Regions from separate parts of the Homo sapiens genome. Here region 2 is linked to region 1. The links are contacts of gene promoters, found by promoter capture Hi-C in blood cells and fetal thymus (Javierre and others, 2016). All regions are on one chromosome and are shown on one strand. The core of a region is centred on a gene start or on the middle of the fragment in contact, and the rest is flanking DNA. Distances in the headings are between cores, read along the strand shown. Region 1 holds the start of HNRNPK-AS1 (HNRNPK antisense RNA 1). Region 2 has its middle 100 kb from the start of SLC28A3-AS1.

Evidence for each region. Contacts are between HindIII fragments. The CHiCAGO score rates a contact against its expected background, and 5 or more counts as called.
Region 2: a fragment that was not itself captured here is called in contact with the fragment with the promoter of HNRNPK-AS1 in region 1 in 5 of 17 cell types (naive CD4 T cells, total CD8 T cells, M1 macrophages and 2 more); the score reaches 7.8 in naive CD4 T cells.

The regions. Positions count from the first base shown.
Region 1 is chr9:83,970,845-83,973,778 of GRCh38, reverse strand. HNRNPK-AS1 (HNRNPK antisense RNA 1) reads right to left here and starts at 1,684. Exons shown (of 2, transcript NR_186535.1): 1 at 1,502-1,684. HNRNPK (heterogeneous nuclear ribonucleoprotein K) reads left to right here. Exons shown (of 17, transcript NM_031263.4): 9 at 380-493; 10 at 807-935; 11 at 1,590-1,897; 12 at 2,053-2,107; 13 at 2,423-2,506; 14 at 2,867-2,882. The HindIII fragment of the contact is 2,844 bases long and covers 830-2,934 here.
Region 2 is chr9:84,172,244-84,176,226 of GRCh38, reverse strand. No RefSeq gene overlaps it. Among named protein-coding and RNA genes, the nearest start is that of SLC28A3-AS1, 100 kb to the left of the region's middle. RefSeq lists an enhancer at 2,739-3,248. The HindIII fragment of the contact is 1,143 bases long and covers 1,621-2,763 here.

The DNA of each region.
Region 1 (2,934 bases), core at 435-2,934:
ATGGTCTTACAACTCACTGTTGACCCTGCTCCATGCTGCAGTGGGAATTAACTACATTTGCAAAGTGCTTTGCAGTCATTTTTATTATGGTGTTATTTGAATGTTAATAATAATTTTGTGGTAACAGCGACATGCTAAATGGCTGCAGTGTGGGTATGGTGTTGCAGGACCTGAAAATAAAATAGTTTTTTAAGGTGGTGCAGAATGTCCTTTTTGGGCCTGGCTATTGAGGATAATAAGCACATAACTGGTAAAGTTATTGAAATATAAATTCAGGTTGCTCACTGCAACAGTATATTATTGTTATGCTTATAGCAGATAAGTGTGTATTGGGGAATTGTTGATTTGAGACTAAAATTTTATAATTCTCCCTCCACAGTACCAACACTATAAAGGAAGTGACTTTGACTGCGAGTTGAGGCTGTTGATTCATCAGAGTCTAGCAGGAGGAATTATTGGGGTCAAAGGTGCTAAAATCAAAGAACTTCGAGAGGTAAAAAAAAAAAAATTCTGCCGTATTCTTTGCTGGAAAGTAAATTTTCATATAGACTTGTTTCTGTGAGCTTCTCTCGCTTCCCCTCTCAGTTCCCTCCAAAGATTGCTTATCGCAAATGACAAAAAATGTCTGGCACTGCTAGACATGTTATTTTGTCAAAATTTTTATACCATTGCAAAGCCCTGTGATAATTAATGAAGTTTTTATATTGTGGGGGGTTAATTGTTGAATTCAAATGCAATTTTCACTGAACCTAGGAAAGCTAATTTTCTTCTAATTATTATTATTTTTTTTTATGATCTTACTACAGAACACTCAAACCACCATCAAGCTTTTCCAGGAATGCTGTCCTCATTCCACTGACAGAGTTGTTCTTATTGGAGGAAAACCCGATAGGGTTGTAGAGTGCATAAAGATCATCCTTGATCTTATATCTGAGGTACTTCAGAACACTTTTTGTTTACATTTGATTTTATGAAACAAAGTGATAACCTTCTGCAAAAGTAGCTTCAGAGCATTTAGTCTAATAGTCTTTATTTGCCCTTTCCCTAGCAATTTTCTATCACCTGGCTTCAGCCATCACTTTAATTTAAAAATGGTTTTGAAAAAGTGGAGAGTGGTAATTTGTTGGTGGTATTTCTATAGCCTTTGAGCCTTTGAATGAATTTCCTATAGTGTTGCTTGTGTCTTTGTAACTATGCTGCAGGGCTTCCTATCTCAGGTGCCTCAGTATGGATTACAGGCTTGCCAAGACTGATCTCTTCAGCCCTTGTTGTGAAATGTGCATTGTAGTTTGTCATGTGTAAAATGGGAGGGCTTTGTGGTTTCTTACGATCTAAGTGTAAGAGCAAGCTATTACTTCTCCCTGTATAGGCAATAGAACTCACTTTTGTTTAGCATTTGCCAAAAGTATTGGATTTCTTTGGAATCTTTACTTTGCTACTTTTAGCGTTGACATAATTCCTGTTTCTGTCTCTAGTACCTCCTGATGGGGGAATGACTTACATTTTGTTTGATGATGATGTTAGAAGGATTGGTATGAAGCAGGACTCTTTTTCTTCAGTCTGTAAGTTTGTTCCATCTCTGTTTTTAGTCTCCCATCAAAGGACGTGCACAGCCTTATGATCCCAATTTTTACGATGAAACCTATGATTATGGTGGTTTTACAATGATGTTTGATGACCGTCGCGGACGCCCAGTGGGATTTCCCATGCGGGGAAGAGGTGGTTTTGACAGAATGCCTCCTGGTCGGGGTGGGCGTCCCATGCCTCCATCTAGAAGAGATTATGATGATATGAGCCCTCGTCGAGGACCACCTCCCCCTCCTCCCGGACGAGGCGGCCGGGGTGGTAGCAGAGCTCGGAATCTTCCTCTTCCTCCACCACCACCACCTAGAGGGGGGTAAGTTGTTTTTTTTGTTGTTGTTGTTTTTTCTTCCCCCATCTATGAATTATTAACCTGCAAGAGGCTGCACTTAGTGGTAGACAAGGTAGACTTTGATTTGATATGTGTGGCATGTAAGCACGTTTAGATTACAACAAGTACTATGCTTGCAGAGACCTCATGGCCTATGACAGAAGAGGGAGACCTGGAGACCGTTACGACGGCATGGTAAGAACTTTGGTTTATTACCAGTGTGTTGGGTATGTGAGGGTTGTCACAATGTAGTTCACGTTTTGTTGAAGGTTATAGTGATTAAAAAGTTTTTCTTACAAGTAAATTTTGTTTGGATTACTAGTTAAATAATTCTGTTATTTGCTGCTGGAGGATTACGACTTTATTGAGCTTTGTTCCCCTCGATTACAAAATTGCTGCCTATATATGTACCCTCTTTTGTTTTAATGTAACATGCAAATTAGGCATATTAAAAACAGCTCTATAACAAAATACAATGCGGGTTCATGTTAATGTTTTTATCTCTAACAGGTTGGTTTCAGTGCTGATGAAACTTGGGACTCTGCAATAGATACATGGAGCCCATCAGAATGGCAGATGGCTTATGAACCACAGGTTGAGTATCATAGTTGTTCGTGTGTATATCAGTGATAATTTAAGATGCTTACCTGCTCTCCAGTAAGTTTTTTATTCCCCTGAGGATACTTACTGAAAATAGGATACAGGAGGACTTTGGTTTCCTGAAGAGGGATTTTATGAGATTAAAATACTTGAATAGTGAAGCTGGGTGCAGTGGTGCTCACTCATAATCCCAACTACAAAAGAGTCTGAGGCAGGAGGATCACTTGAGCCCGAGAGTTTGAGACCAGCCTGGGCAACATAGCAAGACTCCATTTTATTAAATGAATTTTTTTAAAGTACCGGTAGTAATTACAACGGCAAAGTAATTTTCTATTTTTTTCTTTCTGTTTTTAGGGTGGCTCCGGATATGGTAAGTTCTCTCCTTTGTGAAGTCAAACATTAATTTCATACTTTTTAAATGA
Region 2 (3,983 bases), core at 943-3,442, 200 kb before region 1:
TTCTCAATGCCAAATCCAAGAACATGTTCCATGTGATTACTTAGAAAGCATTTCACCAAAACGTTTTTCCTCAAGTATATTCAGATATATTCTACCCATCCTTTCTTTCTAGACATTACTATCAGTTGTCTCCATTTCAGCCCCTGGTGTATGCTTATGACCAGGGCACATTGCCTTGTGGTTAAGGATGTGAGTTTTGGAATCAGAGATTCTAGGTTCAAATCCCGCATCCTCCCCTATAGAATGCCTCTCGGAATTGATGGAGAAGAACAAGCAGCGTGGCAGCCACAGAGCAAGCACTGAATGTATGTGAGGTTCCATTATTGTACCATGAGCAAGAGGTTCCATTCCAAGCTGGGGGGAGGGAAGGTGGGATCCTTCCAAACTGCCGTCTACCTCAGTGACTTTCTCTCTCCAGCACTGCAGGATGAGAGGCCAAGGAAACACTGTCCTGAAACCATCCTCGCTCTTTTCAAGTGTTCTGCAGAGAGGGCACTCTGCCCCATCTTCTGCATTCCACCTGGGGCTGCGAGTCCCAGATGCCACTCTGTAAATATCAAGTGCCTCCTAATAACAAAACTCAAAATCTGGGAGGGCAGACAGACCACAAGGAGCAGGCTGACGAGCACTTTCTGAACCTCTTCAGTTTGTTTATGTCTCCAAGGCCTGCTTTTAGTCTCAGCCAATGTTCATGTAAAAACTTTCTCTCCACTGGAGATAATGATGCTTAAAAGACTCATGGCAGGAGGGACTCTGTGGGTGGAGCAGTCAAAAGAGCAGAGTTTTGGGGGTCAGAGAGACCCCAGTGAAAATCCTGGCTTTGCCCTTTAATAACTGCTTTGTCTGGTAAGTTTCATCTCTTCGCTCAAGTGGAGATGACACTGCCTTCTTCACAGGGCTGCAGCCACAATTACAGATGGCAGTGAAAAGGGCTTTGCTCATCAACTGGCCTAAAGGACTGTTTTTATGACAGATAAATCCCAAAACTTAATGTTACTTATTTCTAATCTCTTCTACTTTAGCCCTGGAGAAATGTTGCTGAAAAGGAACAAAACATCTGATTAGACTTTATTTCTTTTTTAAATCTTTCTTTCTCTATTTCAGACTTTAACTAATGGGAAAGTGGCCACAAGTATGTTGAACAGAAAAGGAGAGAGAACAAAGGGTTTCGATAACCCACAAACTATACCTGCTATTCTAGGTGGGCCGAATTTTGTCCAGCATCAAGTAGACAGATACTCAAAATGAAAAATATGCTTTATTTGTGGATGTCAGAAAAGATTTAATTAGAGGCAGCTTTAAAAACTGGGTGATTAGGGTCAAGCAATTTCATTGACACATTAAATAAGACTTACAGTTGAGTATCATGCCAAAGTTAACTACTTAGAACTACCAATATGTACGAAATCTGGGTAGATGAGACTGCTGGTATTACCCAATATCTATTCTCTTCTTCCACAGCAAGAGAATTTTTAGCTGAGCATATGAACTCCCAGAATAATAACTGCATTTCTTACCCTCTCTTGCAGATAGGTGTGGTCAAGTTATTAAGTTCTAGGCAAAGAAATGTAAGAGGAAGTGGTGTATGCAACATCACAGAAGTGTCCTTATAGGGAAGCTTCTTTTCCTCCTTTCTGCTGGCTGGAATGGGGACATGATGGCTTGAACTGGAGAAGCCATTCAATGTTCCCTGGTATTATGAATAATCACACCAGCCCCTAGACCATTTACTCAGACTTTCACATGAAAAAAATAAATTTCCATCTTTGTTCCACCACTCATTATTTTGGATTTTCTGTTGCTCACAGCTGATTCTAATCCTAATTCAGTCTGGGTGGCATGAATATACAATTGGCTGTGAATTGTTGAATTTCTTGATTTTTTTAATGCATCAAAATCAGGCATTAAAATGCATTGGCTTGGTTTTCTGTATTTGCTGTTTCTGCTATTAACAGAAGTCCTGCTTTATGAAGCAACAGGAACTGCCTTGGTTATTGTTTATATAAAATTTGCTTTGCATGTACAAAAATCTCATTTATCTTGCCATCTGATACTTGGTAGATTTGGGTGTTTAATGGATCTTTGTTACCAAATATTTTTTCACTCATTGTATACAGATGCTGCTCTTGGGCTATAGCCATCCTTCCTAACAAGCAAAAATCCTCAGAAGATATTTCCAGGTTTTTTTATTGAGGATGCGGGTGGTGATGGATAGCTCATCTCCCCGAAGTCATCCAGTAACCCAATTCTACAGACACTTTTTTTGTTGTTGTTGTTATTTGGATCAGGGCTCCATCTCCTCATTCCTCTCCTTTGTTTTATTTTTTGCTTTTTTGCAACAGAAACAGAGATCTGAATTACATTAATAAAATAGAAAAACAGAGTGTCTGCCTGTCCTCCCCCTCTCCCTCTCTTCCTTCCTTTTTTTTTTCCTCTCTCTCTCTCTCTCTTGACTTTGAGTGAAATATGCCTTTCTAAGACTAAGGCAAATGAACTTTTGGGAGGAAGAGGATCCAAATACATAAAACTTTGCATAATCTCTCAAGGGCTGGTGAGCCCCTGGGAGTCTTTTCAGGAACACTGAATTAAGGACCAGTGTCCTTGAGTTTATTCCAGAAAGCTGGAAGCGCTCCAGTTTACAGGTAACCTCAAGCTCTAATACAATTATCCCCCATTCACACTCTCCCTTTGTGATTTGTCAAATACCCGAATACCATTACTTTCCACTTCGGTTTAAATTGACTCACTTTTGAAACTTAAGCTTCACTAATATCCATGAAATCACAGATACGGTGTGCAATTTATATTTTTTCTAATACATGTTAAAACACATGGCCATTAAAATAAAAGTATGTGCCCATGTGCCATTGTTTTAGGTTGGGTTGAGACTAGGACTAGAGTACAAATCATCTATTTGAGAGGTGTTCCCAAGAAGCACCACTAGGGGGCCGGGGAAATAAGTGTGAAGAGAGGAAAGTCAATCCAGGGAGCATTACGGTCTTTGGGGTTGCATCCCTGCGGACCCCCTAAGAAAGCTGGAGAATGAGCCTCAGAGTTTTACCCACCATCTTCCCTTCGTCATTCTTTGAAAGCTACTCTCGTGGATGTGACCATTAACTCCTACCACTGCAGGCCCGCTGTGAAGGTGGGCAAGCCAGCTCCTGCAATCTGAGTTACAGACATTTGCAGTTAAGAAGCCGTCAGCACAGGCCGGGCCGGGCGCGGTGGCTCACGCCTGTAATCCCAACACTTTGGGAGGCCGAGGTGGGCGGATCACGAGGTCAAGAGATCAAGACCTTCCTGACCAACATGGTGAAACCCCGTCTCTACTAAAAATACAAAAAATTAGCTCGGCATGGTGGCGGGCGCCTGTAGTCCCAGCTACTCGAGAGGCTGAGGTAGGAGGATCGCTTGAACCCGGGAGGCGGAGATTGCAGTGAGCCGAGATTGCGCCACTGCACTCCAGCCTGGTGACAGAGCGAGACTCCGTCTCAAAAAACAAACAAACAAAAAACAGAAGCCATCAGCACAGCGAGGAACTGCAAGTGCCTAGGTAGTTTGCTTAGGGCACTAACCATATCTGCTTCAACTACCTAATACATCTTGCATCCCACCATTAGGATATATGCTGCATGTTGGACAATCCTATACAAAGGACCTGAAACCAATGTTTTTTAGCATAAGAGGACAATTTGGTCAGGTGGAGTAGGCATCTAGCTACATATTATAATTTTTTAATGTCAGAAAACGTCCCCTCCACAAATAGATCTCCTTTTGAAACTCCTCCCCCTCCACTTCATCCTTTCTTCTCAAAGTAAGGTGCTAAAGTCTTTTCGCGGGAAATGTTATCTGGGAAGAATAAGATGTTAAGTCATTAGCAGCCAACAGTTTAGATGTCATTAGCTTAACAAATGAGATAAAGCCGAAAGGCTCTAGCTAATATTTGTAATTATTTATATCACATTTGCCTTCCCCACTGAGAG